Regions from separate parts of the Homo sapiens genome. Here region 1 is linked to region 2. The links are contacts of gene promoters, found by promoter capture Hi-C in human tissues and cell types (Jung and others, 2019). All regions are on one chromosome and are shown on one strand. The core of a region is centred on a gene start or on the middle of the fragment in contact, and the rest is flanking DNA. Distances in the headings are between cores, read along the strand shown.

Evidence for each region. Contacts are between HindIII fragments. The study calls those that stand out against the background at their distance.
Region 1: a contact is called between a fragment that was not itself captured here and the fragment with the promoter of PTF1A in region 2, in 1 of the 25 tissues and cell types used here (H1 embryonic stem cells).

Annotation. Positions count from the first base shown.
Region 1 is chr10:23,522,798-23,525,826 of GRCh38, forward strand. No RefSeq gene overlaps it. Among named protein-coding and RNA genes, the nearest start is that of OTUD1, 85 kb to the left of the region's middle. The HindIII fragment of the contact is 6,427 bases long and covers 1-3,029 here.
Region 2 is chr10:23,190,830-23,193,747 of GRCh38, forward strand. It overlaps PTF1A (pancreas associated transcription factor 1a), which reads left to right and starts at 1,483. Exons shown (of 2, transcript NM_178161.3): 1 at 1,483-2,485; 2 at 2,875-2,918. The coding sequence starts at 1,702. The HindIII fragment of the contact is 16,553 bases long and covers 1-2,918 here.

The sequences.
Region 1 (3,029 bases), core at 108-2,607, 330 kb after region 2:
ATCTTGAACTCCTGGCCTCAAGTGATCCTTCTGCCTCAGCCTCCGAAAGCACTGGGATTACAGGCATAAGCCACTGTGCCCGGCTGATAAATATCTAATTAATGCAGGGTTGAATAGGTGATTGAATACATGAATGGAATCAGTAGGCACTTATTTATTTGCTTTAGCATCTATTAAATAGTCACCATCTTGTGGGTTGTAGTTACTGTACAACTGAAGTGTTTGTAGGTGTTTGACATGCACATTTGAAGTAGCATGAAAAAGCCACCTGACTAGGCAGTGTGATAGGATTACTGATTTCTGCTGATAGCCAGGCCTACCTCACTCCGGGATTCTAGAATTATACTTTTGCATGGAATATCTCTCCTTGTGCTAACTCCTGATTTGACTTGCATCACATCACCAAAGTGTTTCCGGTCATCTAGGTCTTTTGGAAACTCTGGGGCCAAGAATCCTTGAAAGACCTAAAGGAAGCATTTTGAGGAACTGGGCCCCCTCGTGGCCTGTCCTTGGCAGGGGCTTTGGACTGGTATGGAAGTCTCCCATATCCATGCGTCTGGGCAAAATGCAAATGGCAGTAACACCACCAGCTCCTTATTTCTCACTGATGCTGGACAGAGACCCAGCAACCTTTACCCTGGAAGTAATCAAGTGGTTTTGACATGAACTCTGAGGTGGGGCTTGGTTTTTCAAGAAACCCTCTCTCCTGTCAAGCCAGGTCTATTCTGGATGCCAGGACCAGAGAAGTGGCCACCACCACGTGGAGCAGTTGAGACCATTGGTGAGGTGAGGATAAAATAATTCATTGTCTTGCTTTCATCTCTCATTGGCTGAGAGAACATAGGCACGTTACTTTCAGCTATGAACTTCTCAACTGTAAAATAAGAGGGTTGACTCAAGAGGATCTGAAAAGCCTTTTCCAGCTCTGTCATTCCTGCAGTACTGTGGATTTTTCTTTTAGGGATGAAAATGGGTTCCAGTGCAAGTTGTTGTCCTCACTCTAAGGAAGCCCTGGCCAGCCACTCCCTTCTCCTCTTGAGATAACATTTTAGTTATCATCTTTCTCAGTCACCACCTCTGTCTTACAGTTTTTATTTTTGACATCATTGTTTTCTTATTTACATCAAATGTGTGTTAGTTTACAAACATTCTGAAAAAAGTGAAATCGACTCAGCATAGATTTATGTGGGTAATAACCTGCAGCACACTGAAGCAAGTGCATGGTATTAGGCCGTTCTCGCATTGCTATAAGGAAATACCTGAGACTGGGTAATTTACAAAGAAAAGAAGTTTAATTGGCTCACAGTGTTTCAGGCTATACAGGAAGCATGATCCTGGCATCTGCTCGGCTCCTTGGGGGAACCTCAGGAAACTTACAATCATGGTGGATGGCAAAGGGGGAGCGAGACCTCTCACACGGTAGGAGCAGGAGCAGGAGCAGGGGCAAGAGCAGGGGTGGGGTGCGGGGGCAGCGAGGTTTTACACACTTTAAACAACCACATCTCATGAGAACTCTCTCACAAGAACAGCACCAACCAGACGGTGCTAAACTATTCATGAAGGATCCACCCCAGTGATCCAATCACCTCCCACCAAGCCCTACCTCCAACACTGGGGATTACGATTTGACATGAGATTTGGGTGCAGACATAGACCCATACCATATCAGACATGAACAGGAACAGACAGGGCTCTGTCCCCCAGGATCACACAACCTGGCAGAAAAGTCTGTTAGCTCCATTGCTACAATTCCATTCTAAAGACTGTAGGTGCTCAATAGCATTTCTTCTCCCTCCCAACCTGGGAATTTTATTTATGCTGTAGGAGAGGAAACTATCTTTTCCTCACCCATCCTAGGTTCCTGGCTGAGGCCCCTGTAACAAAAGACAGATTAACAAAATAAAACACATACAAATGTATTTAATGTAAGTTTTATGTGACACAGGAGCCTTCATAGGGAAATGAAGATTCAAAGACACAGTTAAACTCAAATGTTTTTAAAAAATATTTTAAAATTTTTATTTGAGATGGAGCCTTGCAGCATTGCCCAGGCTAGTCTTGGACTCCTGGCCTCAAGTGATCCTCCTTCCTTGGCCTCCCAAACAGCCGAGATTATAGGCATGAGCCACTACATGCAGCCAAACTTGAGTGGTTTTTTATAGCTGGTTTGATCAAGAGTGGACAGTTGTGGAGAAATATGAGTGGGAAAAAAGGGTATGATCTAATGGTAATAAACTTGGGGAAACTTAGCAAACCTATTTGTTCAAATTCTTCCATGTCCCTGTGTCTTCAGAGATTTTTTCTTTCTGGGTATAGGGTGGGTAGCTTTCACATGAGATTCTTATGCCCTGCTTCAGGAGAGGACAAATGAAGGCCAGAGAGACCTTCCTGTTTCTGCTGTTTTCACACATTCCTTCAGCTTGAAATATTCAGTATGTCAAGGTGCCATACTTTGGGGTAGGGTGTTTGGAAATCACCAGTGCATTTCAAAAGGAATATGAAGACGTTACCAGTGGCTATAAATACATAGAGTAATGGTCATTTTCTTTTCTTTTCTTTTCTTTTTTCTTTTTTTTAAGCAAAGACTCTGTGTACCTTCTATCTGGTGTTAGTTTGGTTAGGTTCTTTTAGTTTTGTAGAATTGTTATCTTGCTGTGATTATGTTCTTTTAACACTAAGGAAAACCATGTAAAAAGCAGGGTGTTCAAAATTCTGGGGACTAAGACTTGGAAAGAAATAGGCCCAGCAAGCCAGTTCCGCAGGGCTGTCATTAGAGAGTTGACTTGGGTGGCACAGAAGGCACCATAGTGCCCTCTAAGGGTGGTAGTTACTGAATTATTGTACTTCGCTGACATACTGTTTACTCATTAAAGGTCTTGGAAAAGCAGAATTTTAACTACCTTTGCTCCAAGAGAATAAACTCTATTTAGAACAAGGGAAAGCTTTCTATTTTTACCCAGGAAAGAGCTAACCCAGGTGTGGACTGGGAAAAGACAACTTCCTAGGTTTTCACGGTGAGGTTCATTTTG
Region 2 (2,918 bases), core at 233-2,732:
CTGGCCTTCTAACCTTATATATCTTTTGGTTTAACTCTTTGTTCTCAATTCAGTTAATTACAGTGCAATGTCTAAAACCAAGAAGCGTATTTAAATCACTAATCTGAAGAGGCATGACTTGGAATTTGAGAGGCGTCTGAATACCCAACAGAAGCCTCTAGTGAGACAAGTGCCTGAAAAAGGAAGCGGCCCAGGAGGACGACTCCTTTCAGTCCTCTGTAGAGAGAATACGCACGATGGCTGCGCTTCTGAACTCTCCCGGGGTGGAAGCTGCAGCCTGGCTTTTAACCGGAATTGCCCAGACCTTGAAAGTGTTTCTTTGTTGCTCTTAAAAAGAGGAATTCACGTTGCATCGCAGTCTGTGATAAAGTCTGTCTTGGGGCAGAGCTGCATACGTTTTGTGTTTTTTTTTTTTTTCAGAAAAGAAAGGTCGAGAAAGAAAAAAACAAGTCATTCAGGGATGGTCCCTGTGGCCAGTCGGAAAGGTGAGAGACTCGGGCTTTGAAAACGATTCACATTCTGCCCTTTAACTTCAATGCCTTCCCTCCGGACTGCGCCGGAGCAGACGATTCAATGGACTCCTTTTGTATCCAGTTTATTGCTCAGAATCCCTAGGGTCTAGATTTGCTCTCAGAAGAAACGCGCCCCGCTGAGCTGCTCTGGGGGCTGCCCCTCCCGTCTCCCCATTCCTTTCTCCGGGCCGGGGAGGGCAGGGGAGGCAGCCACTGAGCCGATGTCGCTGGGGACCCGCACCAGGCACCACAGCCAGGCTCCAGAGCGGAGTCCCATAGGTGCGCTCCCAGCCCCCGTGTTGCGTCTGGAACGCAGTGGGAGTGGGCCCGGATCACCTTCCAATGACACCCGCATATACTCTGCAAACTGTGCAAAAGCCCTTGAAAAGTCCAGAGATGGGACAGAAGCCCCCAGCAGAACCCAGGCCGGAGCCCCGCGCACCTCGGATAAGGGGGTGGCGGAATGCACCCACCTGGTCCCTGAGGGCAGCACCCTTAGATTGCCCAGGCTGCCGCGGAGGAGGACGATCGCCGCGCGGGCTCCGCTCTCGCCGTCTGGGCCACCGGCGCGCACCCCTAGGAACTTCTCTGGCCGCGTGTAGACGCGGCGCGCGGCTGCCCCAGTCCCAGGGCGGAAGGAGCCGGCGCTGCTCAGCGCGCGCGGGTACGCAGCGGGCACCGCGGGACGCAGGTGCCCCTGGAGCCGCACGCGGGGCAGGTACAGAATCCAGTATGCAGAGGCAGAGGAGAGGGAAGAGAGCGGTGCGAGGAGCCCCGGGCCGCGCGACCCCGCCTTTTCCTCGCCCCAGGAGCTCCCAAAGGGAGCAAAACGCCCCCCACCCCCGCCCACCGCCGCGCCTCCGGGCCCCCTCGCCGCCGGCACACCGCGCTCTGATTGGCTGGCGCGATGGGTCCCTGGCACGCGCCTATGGATGTTGTTATAAGAATCCTCGCGTGCCGGCCCTCAGCTCCAGGAAGTCCGCCACAGCCCTCCCCAGCGCAGCGCGAGCGCGGGCCAGAGCGCAGCGGCCGCGGGCACTCCAGGGAGGCCCGGGGGCGGGCAGCCCGGCGGCCGCCTAGCTGCCCCCAGCCAGGGCCCCGGGAGGGAGGGGCTCGGACGGGCCTTAGAAACTCACCAAGAACTAACACGCGCAGCCCGGCAGTCCCGCTGCCCACTGCGGCGGCGAGCATGGACGCGGTGTTGCTGGAGCACTTCCCCGGGGGCCTAGACGCCTTTCCTTCTTCGTACTTCGACGAGGACGACTTCTTCACCGACCAGTCTTCACGGGACCCCCTGGAGGACGGCGATGAGCTGCTGGCGGACGAGCAGGCCGAGGTGGAGTTCCTTAGCCACCAGCTCCACGAGTACTGCTACCGCGACGGGGCGTGCCTGCTGCTGCAGCCCGCGCCCCCGGCCGCCCCGCTAGCGCTCGCCCCGCCGTCCTCGGGGGGCCTCGGTGAGCCAGACGACGGCGGCGGCGGCGGCTACTGCTGCGAGACGGGGGCGCCCCCAGGCGGCTTCCCCTACTCGCCCGGCTCGCCGCCCTCGTGCCTGGCCTACCCGTGCGCCGGGGCGGCAGTACTGTCTCCCGGGGCGCGGCTGCGCGGCCTGAGCGGAGCGGCGGCTGCGGCGGCGCGGCGCCGGCGGCGGGTGCGCTCCGAGGCGGAGCTGCAGCAGCTGCGGCAGGCGGCCAACGTGCGCGAGCGGCGGCGCATGCAGTCCATCAACGACGCCTTCGAGGGGCTGCGCTCGCACATCCCCACGCTGCCCTACGAGAAGCGCCTCTCCAAGGTGGACACGCTGCGCCTGGCCATCGGCTACATCAACTTCCTCAGCGAGCTCGTGCAGGCCGACCTGCCCTTGCGCGGCGGTGGCGCGGGCGGCTGCGGGGGGCCGGGCGGCGGCGGGCGCCTGGGCGGGGACAGCCCGGGCAGCCAGGCCCAGAAGGTCATCATCTGCCATCGGGGCACCCGTAAGTGCTTCCGCTTCCCAGCTCAGGGAGAAGGGGTCGGGCACTCGAAGGCTCCGGAGGGGCTGGGGGAGCTGACTGCCAAGCAGACAGTCGGACCGACGGATTGTCGGTGGGCACGGAAAAACTTGAATGCGAGCTCGCGTTTCTCGTTTTTTTTTTTTTTTTTATTTTTCTGCCACGTTGACCGCGGCTCTCAAGGGCGCGCGTCCCCGCCAGACTTGCAGCTCCTCGGATTCCTGGGAGGGGACGGTGGGGACTTGAAGTGTGGAGGAAGAGGGTGGTTCTAGTATAACCGGAGAGCACCCAGGAAAGGGTCCTAAAGGACCTGATGGGACCAATGGGAATGTGGTTGGATATTCACAGTCTGTTTTCTCTTCTCACCTGTCCAGGGTCCCCCTCCCCCAGCGACCCTGATTATGGCCTCCCTCCCCTA